2 separate regions of the Homo sapiens genome follow, and region 2 is linked to region 1. Evidence: promoter capture Hi-C in 16 types of primary human blood cells and fetal thymus (Javierre and others, 2016). All regions are on one chromosome and are shown on one strand. The core of a region is centred on a gene start or on the middle of the fragment in contact, and the rest is flanking DNA. Distances in the headings are between cores, read along the strand shown. Region 1 holds the start of CAMP (cathelicidin antimicrobial peptide). Region 2 holds the start of TREX1 (three prime repair exonuclease 1).

The links. The method cuts DNA at HindIII sites, captures the fragments that hold promoters and counts their contacts. A CHiCAGO score of 5 or more calls a contact.
Region 2: the fragment with the promoter of TREX1 here is called in contact with the fragment with the promoter of CAMP in region 1 in 6 of 17 cell types (endothelial precursors, megakaryocytes, erythroblasts and 3 more); the score reaches 8.6 in endothelial precursors.

What each region holds. Positions count from the first base shown.
Region 1 is chr3:48,220,315-48,225,474 of GRCh38, forward strand. It overlaps CAMP (cathelicidin antimicrobial peptide), which reads left to right and starts at 3,181. Exons shown (of 4, transcript NM_004345.5): 1 at 3,181-3,398; 2 at 4,040-4,147; 3 at 4,289-4,360; 4 at 4,979-5,160. The coding sequence starts at 3,198. The coding sequence ends at 5,110. RefSeq lists enhancers at 2,526-2,645, 2,666-2,795, 2,806-2,855 and a silencer at 2,865-3,159. The HindIII fragment of the contact is 1,963 bases long and covers 2,684-4,646 here.
Region 2 is chr3:48,464,343-48,467,479 of GRCh38, forward strand. It overlaps TREX1 (three prime repair exonuclease 1), which reads left to right and starts at 1,888. Exons shown (of 2, transcript NM_033629.6): 1 at 1,888-1,967; 2 at 2,288-3,137. The coding sequence starts at 2,314. It overlaps ATRIP (ATR interacting protein), which reads left to right. Exons shown (of 13, transcript NM_130384.3): 11 at 240-320; 12 at 489-741; 13 at 1,145-3,137. The coding sequence ends at 1,212. ATRIP-TREX1 (ATRIP-TREX1 readthrough) reads left to right here. Exons shown (of 15, transcript NR_153405.1): 12 at 240-320; 13 at 489-741; 14 at 1,145-1,967; 15 at 2,288-3,137. RefSeq lists enhancers at 1,114-1,203, 1,816-2,697, 2,284-2,483, 2,698-3,137. The HindIII fragment of the contact is 3,980 bases long and covers 259-3,137 here.

The DNA of each region.
Region 1 (5,160 bases), core at 1,931-4,430:
GTCTTGATGTGGAAAAGCCTAACTTTTTTTTTTTTTTTGAGACGGAGTCTTACACTCTTGCCCAGGCTGGAGTGCAGTGGCGCCATCTCAGCTCACTGCAAGCTCCGCCTCCTGGGTTCACACCATTCTCCTGCCTCAGCCTCCCAAGTAGCTGGGACTACAGGCGCATGCCACCACACCCAGCTAGAGACGGGGTTTCACTGTGTTAGCCAGGATGGTCTCAATCTCCTGACCTCATGATCAGGCCACCTCGGCCTTCCAAAGTGCTGGGATTACGGGCGTGAGCCACCGCGCCCGGCTAAGCCTCACTTTTCTTTTCTCATTCCGCCTTGCCTAGAATCTTCTGATCACTCTATTAATGGGGTGAGCCATTATGAAAAAGGCGAGCTGGTGAGAGCCTCCTTTCTCCCTCTCTAGGAGGAAGGGGCAGCCATGGGTTCTAAAGGTCTGAAGTCAGCCGCCCTACCTCAGGTAGTGGACACCGACCTGCATGTGCCGAGGGCAGGACTCACTCCTGGAACCTGGGAAGCCTGGACCTTGTGCGATGGCCCTGAGAGGGAAAGCAAGTGCCCCTGAGTCCAGACTTCTGCAGTTGTATCAGAGGGCCTATGCAAGCTGCTTGGGCTCTGGCTGATTTCATGTGAGGGCGTGTCCAGCACTGGCCGAAGTGGAACGTCCTCTTGAGGCAGTTGGAAAGGGGCTCTGAATATGCCAGATCTGACCTAGAGGAACACAGGAGCATGCAGCTCTCACGCCCTAGCCTAAGGACTAACATTGCCATCTGCTTCTCCCCGGTTTGGCTTCTTGGGGATCCTGAAGCCAGTCAGAAGGGTGGAGGAAGCAGGAGAGCCCTGAGAGGTCTGATATCCCTGGATGGCCCTTTTCCCAACAGCCATAAAAGACCTGATGTGCAAGCCCTGCTTGACCAACAGGCCACTGGGGCAACACTTGAACTGTGAAACCAGGTTGCACAGAAGCCCACTTCTTCCTTCTCTCAAGGCCAGGTGTGCAACCGGTGGCCTTCGTCCAGGCTTCCACCTTCCAGGAGCCCTGCTGTCCAAGCCCCCAAGTGTCCCACAGGCCAACTGAGGTCAAGAGGTACCCCAGGCCTCAGGGCCACATGGCCAGTCCACAGAGGAGCTGGGACCGGAATTTGCCTCATGGACGCTGGACCCCTCTATCACTTTGGCCCTTTATCTCTCCTGGCTGTGATCTCTCCCTCTCCCAACACCAGCCACCCATCCCAGCTTGGTGTCTCAGCTAGAGCACCAAACAGGGAGTAATTTGAGGTCGAATCAGGAGAGACTTCCTGGAAGATGTAGGGGCAAAGAGGAGATTGCTGTGCCTGGTTGGAGGTCAGGGAAAGCTTCATGAGGTGAAAGGGCAGGCCAAACAGAAGGATCGGGGCAGAGCTGGGAGAAAGAGCAGGAGGCTCAGATGAGCCTATGTGATGGGGGCATACGTGACAGTCTGGCACTTGCAGTGTGCAGGGCTGGGGTGAGGGCAGTGGGAACCAAAAGGCCACAGGCCCTGATGCCAGCCTAGGGGGTGTGTGGGCTCCTGAAGGTAGAGGGTTGAAATGGCCAAATTGGTGGTTTAAAGGAACCCCTGGACAACGGTGTGGAGGGTGGACTGTGGTCTGGGGAGAGCCTGAAACCTAGAGAAGGTGGAGTCTGGAGGCTGGGGCAGCATTGCATGGGAGAGAAGATGGCGGCAGGAGCCAGGCAGGGGTGGAAGGAGAGGCCAGAGGGGAGTGCTTTCGGGAGGAAGGAGCCAAAGGTGCTTCAGGGCTCATGCAGTGGGCACTCAGCAGAAGAGCAGTCAAGGAGGCCCAGTGGGGACAACCGGGACGTTCATGGGAGTCTCGAACTCAGAGATACAGACTGGGTGGTGTCTGCCTATTATAACTGGTGTCCTGGGAGAGGGCGTCCCCAGGGAAACCCGAGGCCAGGGAAGAGAAGCAGCCCAGGAGGTGACCCCACACGCTCTCAATATTAAGAAGACAGCCCTTAGGGGAGACCAAGAAGGAGCCACCAGGGAGGCAGGAGGGACAGCAGGAGAGTGGCATCAGGGGAGACCGGGGCAGCAAGAAGGAAGGCTCACCAGTGCCTGTGCAGACAAAGACCAGGCTTGAGGGTGGCCATGGACCAAGGGTGGGTTGGCCAGCCTTCAGTGGCCTTCAGCATGAAGAAGAGTGAAAAGATGGGGTCAAGAAGCGTAGACAACCTTTCCTAAGACTTGGCTTGGGAGAAGCCATGGTGAAAGGCCATGTCTGGAGGGGCTTGGGAACATTTTGAGACTGAAAAAAACAGTGAAGAAGGATGCAGAAGGGGATAGATGGAGCAGAGCCTTCGTCTGGCTGACGGCTGGGTCCAGAGAGCATGTGGTATGGCCTTGAACTGAAAGGGCAACTTGTCCCTTGCAAGAGTGAGTCTCTAGGTTGGGGGTGGCTACTGTCTTCATTTACCAGTTCTTTTTTTTTTTTTTCATACTGAGTCTCACTCTGTTACCCAGGCTGGAGTGCAGTGGCATGATCTCAGCTAACTGCAACTTCTGCTTCCCGGGTTCAATGGGTTCAAGTGATTCTCATGCCTCAGCTTGTAGCTGGGACTACAGGTGTGAGCCATCATGCGTGGCTAATTTTCATATTTTTAGTAGAGATGGGGTTTCACCATGTTGGCCAAGCTTGTCTCGAACTCCTTATCTCAGGTGATCCGCCCACCTTGGCCTCCCAAAGTGCTGGGATTATAGGCGTGAGCCACCGTGCCCTGCCTCATTCATCAATTCTTAATCGATGCCTACAGGGTGCCAGGCAATGCCTAGAGCTGGAGATTTAGCAGTCCATCATACTGACTCCTGAGGAGTAGAAGGATGTAGAATAGGCACCTGGCTCTCTTCCTCTCTGGAGGGATTTAACGCTCTTGAGCACCCCTGGCTATGACAATCTCCGGTCAGGTCTGGGAGGTTGTCAGAGATGAAGAAACCACTTCCTCATCTTGCACACAAGGAAGGCCTCACTCACTGCCCAGCAAGTCCTGTGAAGCAATAGCCAGGGGCTAAAGCAAACCCCAGCCCACACCCTGGCAGGCAGCCAGGGATGGGTGGATCAGGAAGGCTCCTGGTTGGGCTTTTGCATCAGGCTCAGGCTGGGCATAAAGGAGGCTCCTGTGGGCTAGAGGGAGGCAGACATGGGGACCATGAAGACCCAAAGGGATGGCCACTCCCTGGGGCGGTGGTCACTGGTGCTCCTGCTGCTGGGCCTGGTGATGCCTCTGGCCATCATTGCCCAGGTCCTCAGCTACAAGGAAGCTGTGCTTCGTGCTATAGATGGCATCAACCAGCGGTCCTCGGATGCTAACCTCTACCGCCTCCTGGACCTGGACCCCAGGCCCACGATGGTGAGCTTTGGGGGACATTCTGCTCTGCTCTGGCTGGGCTTGGCCACGTGTTGTTCCTTCTGCTCCTGCTGCACTGCCTGCCAGGAGGGCATCTCCCCCTTTAAATGTGGTCCCGTGTTTTCCAGGGAACCTTCTAGAGCTCGTGTCTCCTCCCAGCTCGAGAGCTTCCTGCCTTATAATTCCTGCTGTGGCAGAGATACCCTCACCCCGACCCCACGCAGGTTTTGGGACTTCTGCGAGCTCCAGGCACTAGAATGGGGTCATTGGCTCTGGGCAGTGACCTCCTCTGCTTTAAGTCTCTTCTGTACCACGTTACCCCACATAGGGAAGAACTCTATCCAGACTTTAGGTTCCAGTGGGCATGTCTTGTCCCCCAGGAAGCCCCCTGACTTCCCTTGCCCCCACCCCAGAGTGGGAGGGGCTCCTTGTTAGAGCTCATCTGAGGTCTGCTCCTACTCACTGTTCACCTAGGAGGGTAGGAATGGCTCAGTCCTCCTCCCCTCAATGCCCCAGTGCCAAGCCCAGCACCCAGTGCCCGTCGCACATCAGGTACTGTGGAAAGCCTGCCCTCTTGGTGGGGAGGTCATGGACACAAATCAGAAAATACAAGAATGGGCCTCCCCATTTCCTCCTCTGACTAGGATGGGGACCCAGACACGCCAAAGCCTGTGAGCTTCACAGTGAAGGAGACAGTGTGCCCCAGGACGACACAGCAGTCACCAGAGGATTGTGACTTCAAGAAGGACGGGGTGAGGCTGGGGGCTGGGGGTGTTGGTGGGTGCCTCCCAAGGAGCTGAACAGGGGGCACCTGGGGAATATTTCCCACTGGGATGTGGCTGGGAGGTCATGGCAAATGGTTTCAAGTTTGACCTTGAGCTTCTCCTTTCCAGCTGGTGAAGCGGTGTATGGGGACAGTGACCCTCAACCAGGCCAGGGGCTCCTTTGACATCAGTTGTGATAAGGTGAGTGGGCTGTTCTGGGATGCAGGGGCTGATGGGGGCATAGAGTGTGGACCATCCAATGGGTCAATTAACTACTCCCCCAACCCAGGACAGAGAAAGCCCCTCCTACCCAGGGCTCTTCCCCAAACCTGAGTTCCATCTCCAGGGCCGGCTCTGGAATCCCTTAGAGCGGTAGATCTCCAAGTGTAGCCCTTCCTGGGGACTCGTTAGATATGCAAATTCTCAGGCCCTACTCAGACCTACTCAGACAGACTCTGGGTAGGGCCCAGAAATTCGTATTTTGATAAGCTTTCCAGGAGATTCCGGCTTCTGTAAAGTTTGAGAGCCACTGTCTAAGAGTACTCAGCTCTCAGCCCTGTGTTCCCATCTCAGTGTTGCTGGGCTGGGCTGTGTGACCCTGCAGAGCCCCTCACTATCTCCGGGACTCTGTTTTCTCATCTTTTTATTGGGTGTAGGGATTCAATCACATGCTTCAAAGGTCACAGCCAGAGGTTGAACTGGGGCCCCAAAGCTCCTGCGGGGGCCCACGAAGAGGGGCGTCTAGGTGGGGAGGGGTCTTGGATTGACCCTGGGTACATCCCCGACAAGGAACCTGTTTCTTCCTGTACACAACCCCAGGATAACAAGAGATTTGCCCTGCTGGGTGATTTCTTCCGGAAATCTAAAGAGAAGATTGGCAAAGAGTTTAAAAGAATTGTCCAGAGAATCAAGGATTTTTTGCGGAATCTTGTACCCAGGACAGAGTCCTAGTGTGTGCCCTACCCTGGCTCAGGCTTCTGGGCTCTGAGAAATAAACTATG
Region 2 (3,137 bases), core at 638-3,137, 240 kb after region 1:
ATCCTGTCTTGGCTTTGGGACGTGGGGGCAGAATAGGGGGCTGGAGGCAGGTGGGTTGCTGGTGACACATGAGTGCTTGTCCTGGGTCTTCCCTGGGAAGGTCCCACACCACTTCTTGGACCCCATTTGTGCAGACAAACAGTTGCTGAAGCAAGTGAACTCTTATAGAAGCTTAAGAAAACCCTCGCAGGGACTGGTCTCCTTCTGCCCAGGATGGAACCAATCTGTTCTTGTTCTAGGTGGTGTGGCTCCTGGCTAAGCTTGGTGTGCAGAGCCCCTTGCCCCCAGTCACTGGCTCCAACTGCCAGTGTAATGTGGAGGTGAGTGGGTAGGGGCCAACAGCTGGCAGCTCTGGTGGTAAGGGGGCCCCGTGCAAGGACTGTAGGCCCCACTGCAAACCCCCTCACGTGAGGTGGCTAGGCTGAGCGGATTGTTAGGGTGCAGGCCATGGTGGCACCAGGCCTCAGTCTGCACCCCCCCTCTCTCAGGTGGTCAGAGCGCTCACGGTGATGTTGCACAGACAGTGGCTGACAGTGCGGAGGGCAGGGGGACCCCCAAGGACCGACCAGCAGAGGCGGACAGTGCGCTGTCTGCGGGACACGGTGCTGCTGCTGCACGGCCTATCGCAGAAGGACAAGCTCTTCATGATGCACTGCGTGGAGGTCCTGCATCAGTTTGACCAGGTGATGCCGGGGGTCAGCATGCTCATCCGAGGGCTTCCTGATGTGACGGACTGTGAAGGTAAGCCTGCCAGAGGCCATCCTGCCCAGCCCCCATGGCTTCTTCCAGAGGTTCCCCAACAAGTCAGATTCCTGGGTGTCCCCTCAGCAGGCCCCCGCCCACTGCAGCCTGTTCCAGCACTGGGGCCATTTTCTTTTATCTTCCTGCCTCAGTTCTTCTCCAAGCATATTGGGATGCCTTTTGCATCTATCTGTTGAGTGTGCCTGGCAGAGCCACGGTTTTTCCAGAAATAGCCGTGTCTGAATTGCCTTTGTATCACTTTGTTTGCAGTAGCTGAGGGAGCAGGGCCTGGGTGTGGAAGGGACTGGTTAGTTCCTGCGGACGTTGGGGGAGGAGAGGTGGGACCTGCCCTAGGCCCTGGCACCTTTGGGCCCTCACCAGGAACCTCTCCTTTTTGTCTCAGAGGCAGCCCTGGATGACCTCTGTGCCGCGGAAACCGATGTGGAAGACCCCGAGGTGGAGTGTGGCTGAGGCCCTGAGTGTCCAGCCACATGGTGGCACCAGCACCACTCCTTTCCTTACCACATCAACTGATTAAAGCAGTGACCAGCAGGAACTGCCCAGAGAACTGGCTGGCCTTGTTTCCTGAGTCTGATCTGTTTGGCGGAGTGGGAGGGGTGGAGCAGGACCCGGACCCTGAGTGGCTGGGATCCTTCTTCCTGTCCCTGGCTGTTGCTGAGCCCGTCCCCATGGTAACTGATCTGCCTTGAGGAAGGAGCCCTGCCCTGCCTGTGGAATTGTCCTGAGTCATTGCTTTGGGCTGGGGCCATGGGAAGAAACCATTGTGTGGCAGGGAAGGAGGTGGCTCTTGGCCCAGGCCTAAACCAGGAAAGCCTGGGAAACTGGGACCCACAGGTGGGCATGAAAGGGCCGCAGCAGGGGCTCCCAGCAGTGTGTAAGACCGGGAGCTGGTCTGGCACCACTGCCCTGGTCCTTCCAGCTGCCTGTCACTGGTATGATGGCCCCGGTGCATTGTGCCACCAGCAGGCCACAGCTGTGGATCTTGGAAGGCCTCTGGGGTCCCCCGGGAGCAGGGGAGTGGGTGTGGGGGGGAACGGATGGTGGTGAGAGGGACAGACCAGGCAGGCTGACGAGCAGGGCGGGCCTGGCTCACGTGGGCCTGTAGGCGGGCCCACGCCAAGTTTCACTTCCCGCCACTGCTGCCAGCGAGAGCCGCGGGAGAGTGTGCAGCCGAGTCACTACTGCCTGCCTGCCTGCCTGCTACGGTGAGTGTGGCCCCCACAATGGGATGGCGCAGGGCAGGAGGGCCATGGGTTCCCCCACCCCAGACTAAGGGGGCACTAGGGGAGGGGCCGAGTCATGTGAAGAGGGAGACCCTCTCAGACAGTCGAATGTGCTGGTCCCACTAAGGAAACCACCTCACCCTCTCCAACTTCCTGCCTGAAAATGGGCCCTGGAGCTCGCAGACAGGGCAGGATTGTGCAGGGAAGGCCTGAGATGTGCTTCTGCCCACCCCCTACCCCACTCCCTCCCCTTCGGATCTTAACACTGGGCACTCACACACCCACCCCATGCTCCTCTCCAGGCTCAGCAGCAGGTACGTACCCAACCATGGGCTCGCAGGCCCTGCCCCCGGGGCCCATGCAGACCCTCATCTTTTTCGACATGGAGGCCACTGGCTTGCCCTTCTCCCAGCCCAAGGTCACGGAGCTGTGCCTGCTGGCTGTCCACAGATGTGCCCTGGAGAGCCCCCCCACCTCTCAGGGGCCACCTCCCACAGTTCCTCCACCACCGCGTGTGGTAGACAAGCTCTCCCTGTGTGTGGCTCCGGGGAAGGCCTGCAGCCCTGCAGCCAGCGAGATCACAGGTCTGAGCACAGCTGTGCTGGCAGCGCATGGGCGTCAATGTTTTGATGACAACCTGGCCAACCTGCTCCTAGCCTTCCTGCGGCGCCAGCCACAGCCCTGGTGCCTGGTGGCACACAATGGTGACCGCTACGACTTCCCCCTGCTCCAAGCAGAGCTGGCTATGCTGGGCCTCACCAGTGCTCTGGATGGTGCCTTCTGTGTGGATAGCATCACTGCGCTGAAGGCCCTGGAGCGAGCAAGCAGCCCCTCAGAACACGGCCCAAGGAAGAGCTATAGCCTAGGCAGCATCTACACTCGCCTGTATGGGCAGTCCCCTCCAGACTCGCACACGGCTGAGGGTGATGTCCTGGCCCTGCTCAGCATCTGTCAGTGGAGACCACAGGCCCTGCTGCGGTGGGTGGATGCTCACGCCAGGCCTTTCGGCACCATCAGGCCCATGTATGGGGTCACAGCCTCTGCTAGGACCAAGCCAAGACCATCTGCTGTCACAACCACTGCACACCTGGCCACAACCAGGAACACTAGTCCCAGCCTTGGAGAGAGCAGGGGTACCAAGGATCTTCCTCC